Regions from separate parts of the Homo sapiens genome. Here region 1 is linked to region 2. The links are contacts of gene promoters, found by promoter capture Hi-C in human tissues and cell types (Jung and others, 2019). All regions are on one chromosome and are shown on one strand. Each heading gives the region's core, a stretch centred on a gene start or on the middle of the fragment in contact. The rest is flanking DNA. Distances are from core to core; before and after follow the strand shown.

Evidence for each region. The method cuts DNA at HindIII sites, captures the fragments that hold promoters and counts their contacts. A contact is called where the count stands out against the background at its distance.
Region 1: a contact is called between a fragment that was not itself captured here and the fragment with the promoter of LALBA in region 2, in 2 of the 25 tissues and cell types used here (H1 embryonic stem cells and stomach).

The regions. Positions count from the first base shown.
Region 1 is chr12:48,613,454-48,616,577 of GRCh38, forward strand. No RefSeq gene overlaps it. Among named protein-coding and RNA genes, the nearest start is that of SNORA2C, 40 kb to the right of the region's middle. The HindIII fragment of the contact is 5,812 bases long and covers 1-3,124 here.
Region 2 is chr12:48,568,597-48,571,772 of GRCh38, forward strand. LALBA (lactalbumin alpha) reads right to left here and starts at 1,450. Exons shown (of 4, transcript NM_002289.3): 1 at 1,292-1,450; 2 at 486-644. The coding sequence starts at 1,424. The HindIII fragment of the contact is 2,890 bases long and covers 172-3,061 here.

The DNA of each region.
Region 1 (3,124 bases), core at 559-3,058, 45 kb after region 2:
TTGAGTCTGTGTGTCTTTGCAAATGAGATGTGTCTCTTGAAGACAGCATACCAACGGGTCTTATCTCTTTATCCAGTTTGCCATTCTGTGTCTTTTAATTGGGGCATTTAGCCCATTAACATTTAAGGTTAGTGTTGTTATGTGTGAATTTGATCCTGTCATCATGATGCTAGCTGGTTATTTTGCAGACCTTGTTTATGTGGTTGCTTCATATTGTCACTGGTCTGTGTACTTCACTGTATTTTTATAGTGGCTGGTAGTGGTTTTCTTTTCCATATTTAGTGCTTCCTTCAGGAGCTCTTGCAAGGCAGGCCTGGTGGTGATAAATTCCCTAAGCATTTGCTTCTCTGAAAAGGGTCTTAGTTCTCCTTTGCATATGAAGCTTAGCTTGGCTAGATATAAAATTCCAGGTTGGAAATTCTTTTCTTTAAGAATGTTGAATATTGGCCCTCAATCTCTTCTGGCTTGTATGGTTTCCACTGAGAGGTTTGCTGTTAGTCTGATGGGTTTTCCTTTGTAAGTGACCTAGCCTTTCTTTCTGGCTGCCCTTAACATTTTTTTCTTTCATGTAGACCTTGGAGACTCTGAGGATTATGTGTCTTGGGGTTGATCTTCTCGTGGAGTATCTTACTGGAGTTTTCTGCATTTCCTGAATTTGAATGTTGGTCTGTCTTGCTAGGTTGCAGAAGTTCTCCTGGATGATATTCTGTAGTATGTTTTCCAACTTGGCTCCATTTGCCCCATCTCTTTCAGGTACCCCAATCAGTCATAGGTTAGGTCTTTTTAAACAGTCTCATATTTCTCTGAGGTTTTGTTCATTCCTTTTCATTCTTTTTTGCCTGTCTTATTCAGAAAGATTGTCTTCAAGCTCCGAGATTATTACTATTCTTGTCTGCCTGTCTTATTTCAGCAAGATAGTCTTGAAGCTCTGAGATTCTTTCCTCCACTTGGTCTATTCTGCTACTGATACTTGTGACACATTGTGATGTTCTCATGTTGTGTTTTCAGCTCCATCAGGTCTGTTTTGTTCCGCTCTAAACTGGCTATTCTGGCTATTAGCTCCTGTATTGTTTCATTTTGTATTTTGTAGAGGTGGAGATTTGCTCTGTCACCCAGGCTGGAGTGCAGTGGCCTGATCTCAGCACACTGCAACCACTGCCTCCTGAGTTCACTGGTTCTCCTGCCTCAGCCTCCCAATTAGCTGGGATTACAGGCAAGCACCACTGTGCCCAGCTAATTTTTTTGTATTTTTGGTACAGACAGTTTTCATCATGTTGGCCAGTCTGGTCTCAAACTCCTGACCTCATGATCTGCCTGCCTCAGCCTCCAAAGTCCTGGGATTATAGGCATGAACCACTGCACCCAGCCTCCTATATTGTTTTATCATGATTCTTAGCTTCTTTGCATTGGGTTAGAACATGCTCTTTTAGTTCAGTGAGGTTCATTATTACCCATCATCTGAAGCCTACTTCTGTCAATTCAGCCATCTCAGCCTGAGCCCAGTTTTGTGTCCTTGCTGGAAAAGTGTTGTGGTCATTTGGAGGAAAAAAGGCCCTCTGGCTTTTTGAGTTTTCAGCTTCTTTGCATTGATTCTTCCTCATCTTTGTGGGCTTATCAACCTTGAATCTTTGAGGTTGCTAACCTTTGAACAGACTTCTTGTGGGGTCTTTTTTGTTGATGTTGTTGCTGTTGTTTTCTGTTTGTTTGTTTGCTTGTTTGTTTTTCTCTTAACAGTCAAGCTACACTACTGTAGGGCTTCTGTGGTTTGCTGGGGGTCCACTTCAGACCCTAGTTGCCTTGTTTTTTCCAGTACTTGGAGGTATCACCAGTGAAGGCTGCAAAACAGCAAAGATGGCTGCCAGCTCCTTCCTCTGGAAACTTTGTCCCAGGTGGGTACTGACCTGTTGCTGGCCCAAACACACTGGTAGGAGGTGTCTGGAGACCCCTGTTGGGAGGTCTCACCCAGTCAGGAGGAATGGGATCAGGGACCCACTTAAATAAGCAATCTGTGCCGGGCACAGTGGGCTCATGCCTGTAATCCAACACCCTGGGAGGCCGAGGCAGGTGGATCACGAGGTCAGGAGATCGAGACCATCCTGGCTAACATGGTGAAACCCCATCTCCACTAAAAAAAAACAAAAAAAAAAAATTAGCCAGGTGTGGTGGCAGGTGCCTGTAGTCCCAGCTACTCGGGAGGCTGAGGCAGGAGAATGGCATGAACCTGGGAGGTGGAGCATGCAATGAGCCGAGATCATGCCACTGCACTCCAGCCTGGGGGACAGAGTGAGACTCCGTCTCAAAAATAAATAAATAAATAAGCAATCTGACTGCTTTTTGATAGAGCAGGTGTGCTGCACTGGGGGGAGCCCTTCCTTGTCCAGACTGTTTGTATTCTCCAAAGCCGATAGGCTGGAAAAGACTGAGTCAACCAAACCACAAAGACAGCAGCTGCACCTCCCCCAGGGGCTCTATCCCAGGGAGAGATCAGAGCTTTTTCTGTAGAACCCTAGCTGGAGTGGCTGAAGCTCCCACAGAGAGGTTGCACCCAGTGAGGAAGAATGAACTGGGGTCCCGCTTAAAGAAGCAGTCTGACCACAGTCTGGCAAGGTGGCTGTGTTGCTTTGTGAGGGACTTTTCCTCATCCAGACTTTATATTCTCCAAAACCAGCAGACTGGAATGGCTGAGTCTACCAAACTACAGCAATTATGAGTTTAATTTCTTTTATAGATATAAGATTATTCAGATTTGTATTAATTCTTATGTCATTCTGGTCATTAGCATCTTTCAAGTAATTTAAAAATTTTATTTAAATTGTCAAATGTATTGGCATAAGGTTGTTCATAATACTGCCTTTTAATTCTTTTAATATCTGTAGGGTTTGTAGTGATACCTCTTCTTTTGTTTATTGATATTGATAATTTGTGTTTGTCTGGGTTTAAGTCAATTTAGCTGATAATTTATCAATTTTATTGATTTTTTTCAAAGAGCTAATTTTTTGCCTGTAATCCCAGCAATTTGGAAGGCCAGACCACTTGAGCCTAGGAGTCCAAGACCAGCCTGGGCAACATGGTGAAACCCTGACTCTACAAAAAATCTAAAACATTAGCCAGGCATGGTGGTGTA
Region 2 (3,176 bases), core at 200-2,699:
CAGGAGTTACAGGGAAAGGATTGAGACAGCTGACAAGTATTACCCAGAAAGGCACTGAGTTCCCCTAACCCCTGGATCCAGTGGGTTCTCTAAACTCAAGGCTTGTGCCTGTTGTCTTTCTATATGAAAGGACCAATGTGGTAATGTCTAACCCTGGGTAGGGACTTCCTTCATTTCCCTGGGATATCTCTGGAGGAATCATCAGCTTCATCAACTGACTTACCCTGAAAATGCAGACAATCAGATTCCAAGACTCTCAGACAGCTCCGATTGTCTACCACTGAACCTCAAGGAACTGTCTGGGGATTTGATGACCATGAAAAATCCAAACAGCTTCTTACTCAGTACTGCCAATTCAAGTCCCACAATTTTTATAGAGCCCAGCCAAGGCAATGAAGCCTGAGGTCTGCTTGGCACTAAAAAGGAGATTATCCCAAGGGCAGGCCTCAGAAAAACAGAGAAAGAGGGTTATAGGGGCTACTCACTGTCACAGGAGATGTCACAGATGTTCCTTGACTGAGGGACCTGGCTGCTCTTGCACCAAAGCTTATTACTGATCTGGAAGAGTCCATATTCCGTGCTTTCATTGTTTTCAACTATGGCTTGTGTGTCATAACCACTGGTGTGAAACATGGTACAGATCACTGAGGGAAAGATGAGAAAGAGATACCACAGAGATGTACAGGATCTGCATAAAGGAGGAACTGTAATTCTCAGACAAAAATGCTTTCCAGCCAATCTCCAAAGATGGCAAAGCTCAGAGTTTCTTGATGAGATGGAGAATTCCAAAAAAAAATCAGACAATAAGAGAAAGAAAGGATAGGAAAATAAATGGGGCCAGGCATGATGGCTCACGCTTGTAATCCCAACACTTTGGGAGGCTGAGGAGGGCGGATCACCTGAGGTCAGAAGTTTGAGACCAGCCTGGCCAACATGGTGAAACCCTGTCTCTACAAAAAATACAAAATTAGCCAGGCATGGTGGTGGGTGCCTGTAATTCCAGCTACTTGGGAGGCTGAGGCAGGAGAATCACTTGAACCGAGGAGGCGGAGGTTGCAGTGAGCCGAGATTACACCATTGCACTCCAGTCTGGGCAACAAGAGCGAAACTCCACCTCAAAAATAAATAAATACATACATATATACATACATGAAATAAAAGAGTATGCAAATGAGCAGAAAAGAGGATGATTAGATAATTAAGTAAAAGTGGAGGGGCGAAGTGGAAGAAAGAGGGGATGGAGGAGAGAAGCGTATGAGGAATGGATGAAACACAGAGGCAGGGAACTCACATTCAGGCAAAGCGATGCCTCCATAACCATCTATGTCTTTCAGCAGCTGGGACAGCTCACATTTTGTGAATTGCTTGGCCAGGATGGCAGGGAACAGGATGCCCACCAGGAACAGAGGGACAAAGAACCTCATTTTGGCTACCCCCAAGAACCTGAAATGGAAGCATCACTCAGTTTCATTTATTTATATTCATGCAGAAAGCCTCAGGGGCTCTGGTACCAAGCCCTACATCTAGGAAGAGAATGAAGAGAGACTGGTCATGCCAAGACAGAAACGCTGAGCCTGCCAGCTTCCTTCCATAATTCACCCTACTTTTCCTTTCCCTCTCCCAGTATCTAGTCCATAGCAGGTATTGTTCTCTGGCCAGAAAGAGTTCAAACCATGATCCTGCTTCCCATTTGGCTTTGTTTAGCCCTTTGTTTCTTGTAGGGTTGGTTCTGGGAAGCACTGTCTCTGGTTACTTGAGGAACAAAGAAGGGCATGGGGGCAATATAAGAAGTGAGGCAATCAGAAAATACAATAAAGTTCTATACCGAGCTTCCCCCTTCCCCCCTAGAGACATGCAGAATGTGGAGAGGGGGTGTATGTCATCACATGCCACAGTCCCAGGATCAGAGCTGGCACTTGTCCAACCAATCCAGCCATGTAACAAGGCCCAGAATTAGTTCTTTAATATGGTAGCTCATGACTGAAGGCTCAGAAATAGGAATAGAATATGGGAACGTAGACTACAACAATCCGATATAACTTGGATCTTAAGACTTCCTACTTAAGGAAAATGCATAATTGAAAAGCCTGTATGAAAGCATCTAGGCCAGGCACAGTGGCTCACACCTGTAATCCCGGCATTTTGGGAGGCCGAGTCTGGTGGATCACTTGAGCCCAGGAGCTCGAGACCAGCCTGGGCAACATGGTAAAATCCCATCTCTACAAAAAAAATTAGCTGGGCATGGTGACATGTGCCTGTAGTCCCAGCTACTTGAGGGGCTGAGGCAGGAGGAACACTTGAGCACAGGAGGTCGAGGCTGCAGTGAGCCATGTTCACTCCACTGCACTCCATCCATCCTGGGAGACAAAGTGAGACCCTATCTTTAAAAAAAAAAAAAAAAAAAAAGAATCTAGCTATCCTACGAGCTATTATCAGATTCCCCACCCCTAACCACTCCTACCGTAAATAACCAAATACTACACTGGCATTGAGACATTACATAAATCTAAGACCAATAACTTGTAGACAACCTCAGAGTTGGCCACAGAAAGTGGGAAGGACCCAAGCCAGTGGAAAGATTGGACTTTAAGGCTGAACAAGCTTATGTCTGGAATCTCTATAAGGTCAGTGCCCCTGAGCAAGTAGAGTTGAGGATACTAGTTCTGAATAGCTCCTTTAATTTGCTGGCATGAAGCTTCATGTCATGGTGACAAGTAGCTCTTAGCTCCTTCATGCCACCATTCGTCTTCTTTGTCCTCATCTCTAAACCTGATTTCTTCTTCTTCTTCCTTTTTTTTTTTTTTTTTTGACCAAGTCTCACTCTGTTGCCCAGGCTGGAATGCAGTGGCGCGATCTTGGCTCACTGCAACCTCTGCCTCCCAGGCTCAAGTGATTCTCCTGCCTCAGCCTCCCGAGTAGCTGGGACTACAGGCACGTGTTACCATGCCCGGTTAATTTATGTATTTTTAGTAGAGACGGAGTTTCTGCATGTTGGCCAGGCTGGTCTCAAACTTCTGAGCTCAGGCAATTTGCCTGCCTGGGCCTCGGCCTCCCAAAGTGCTAGGATTACAGACAGGAGCCGCTGCGCTGTTTCTTATGTTTCAGGGAACATTTATCCCAACCAATCTATTTAAGACTTACATACTGAAGGTCTTCCATATCGTTATCTCCTACAT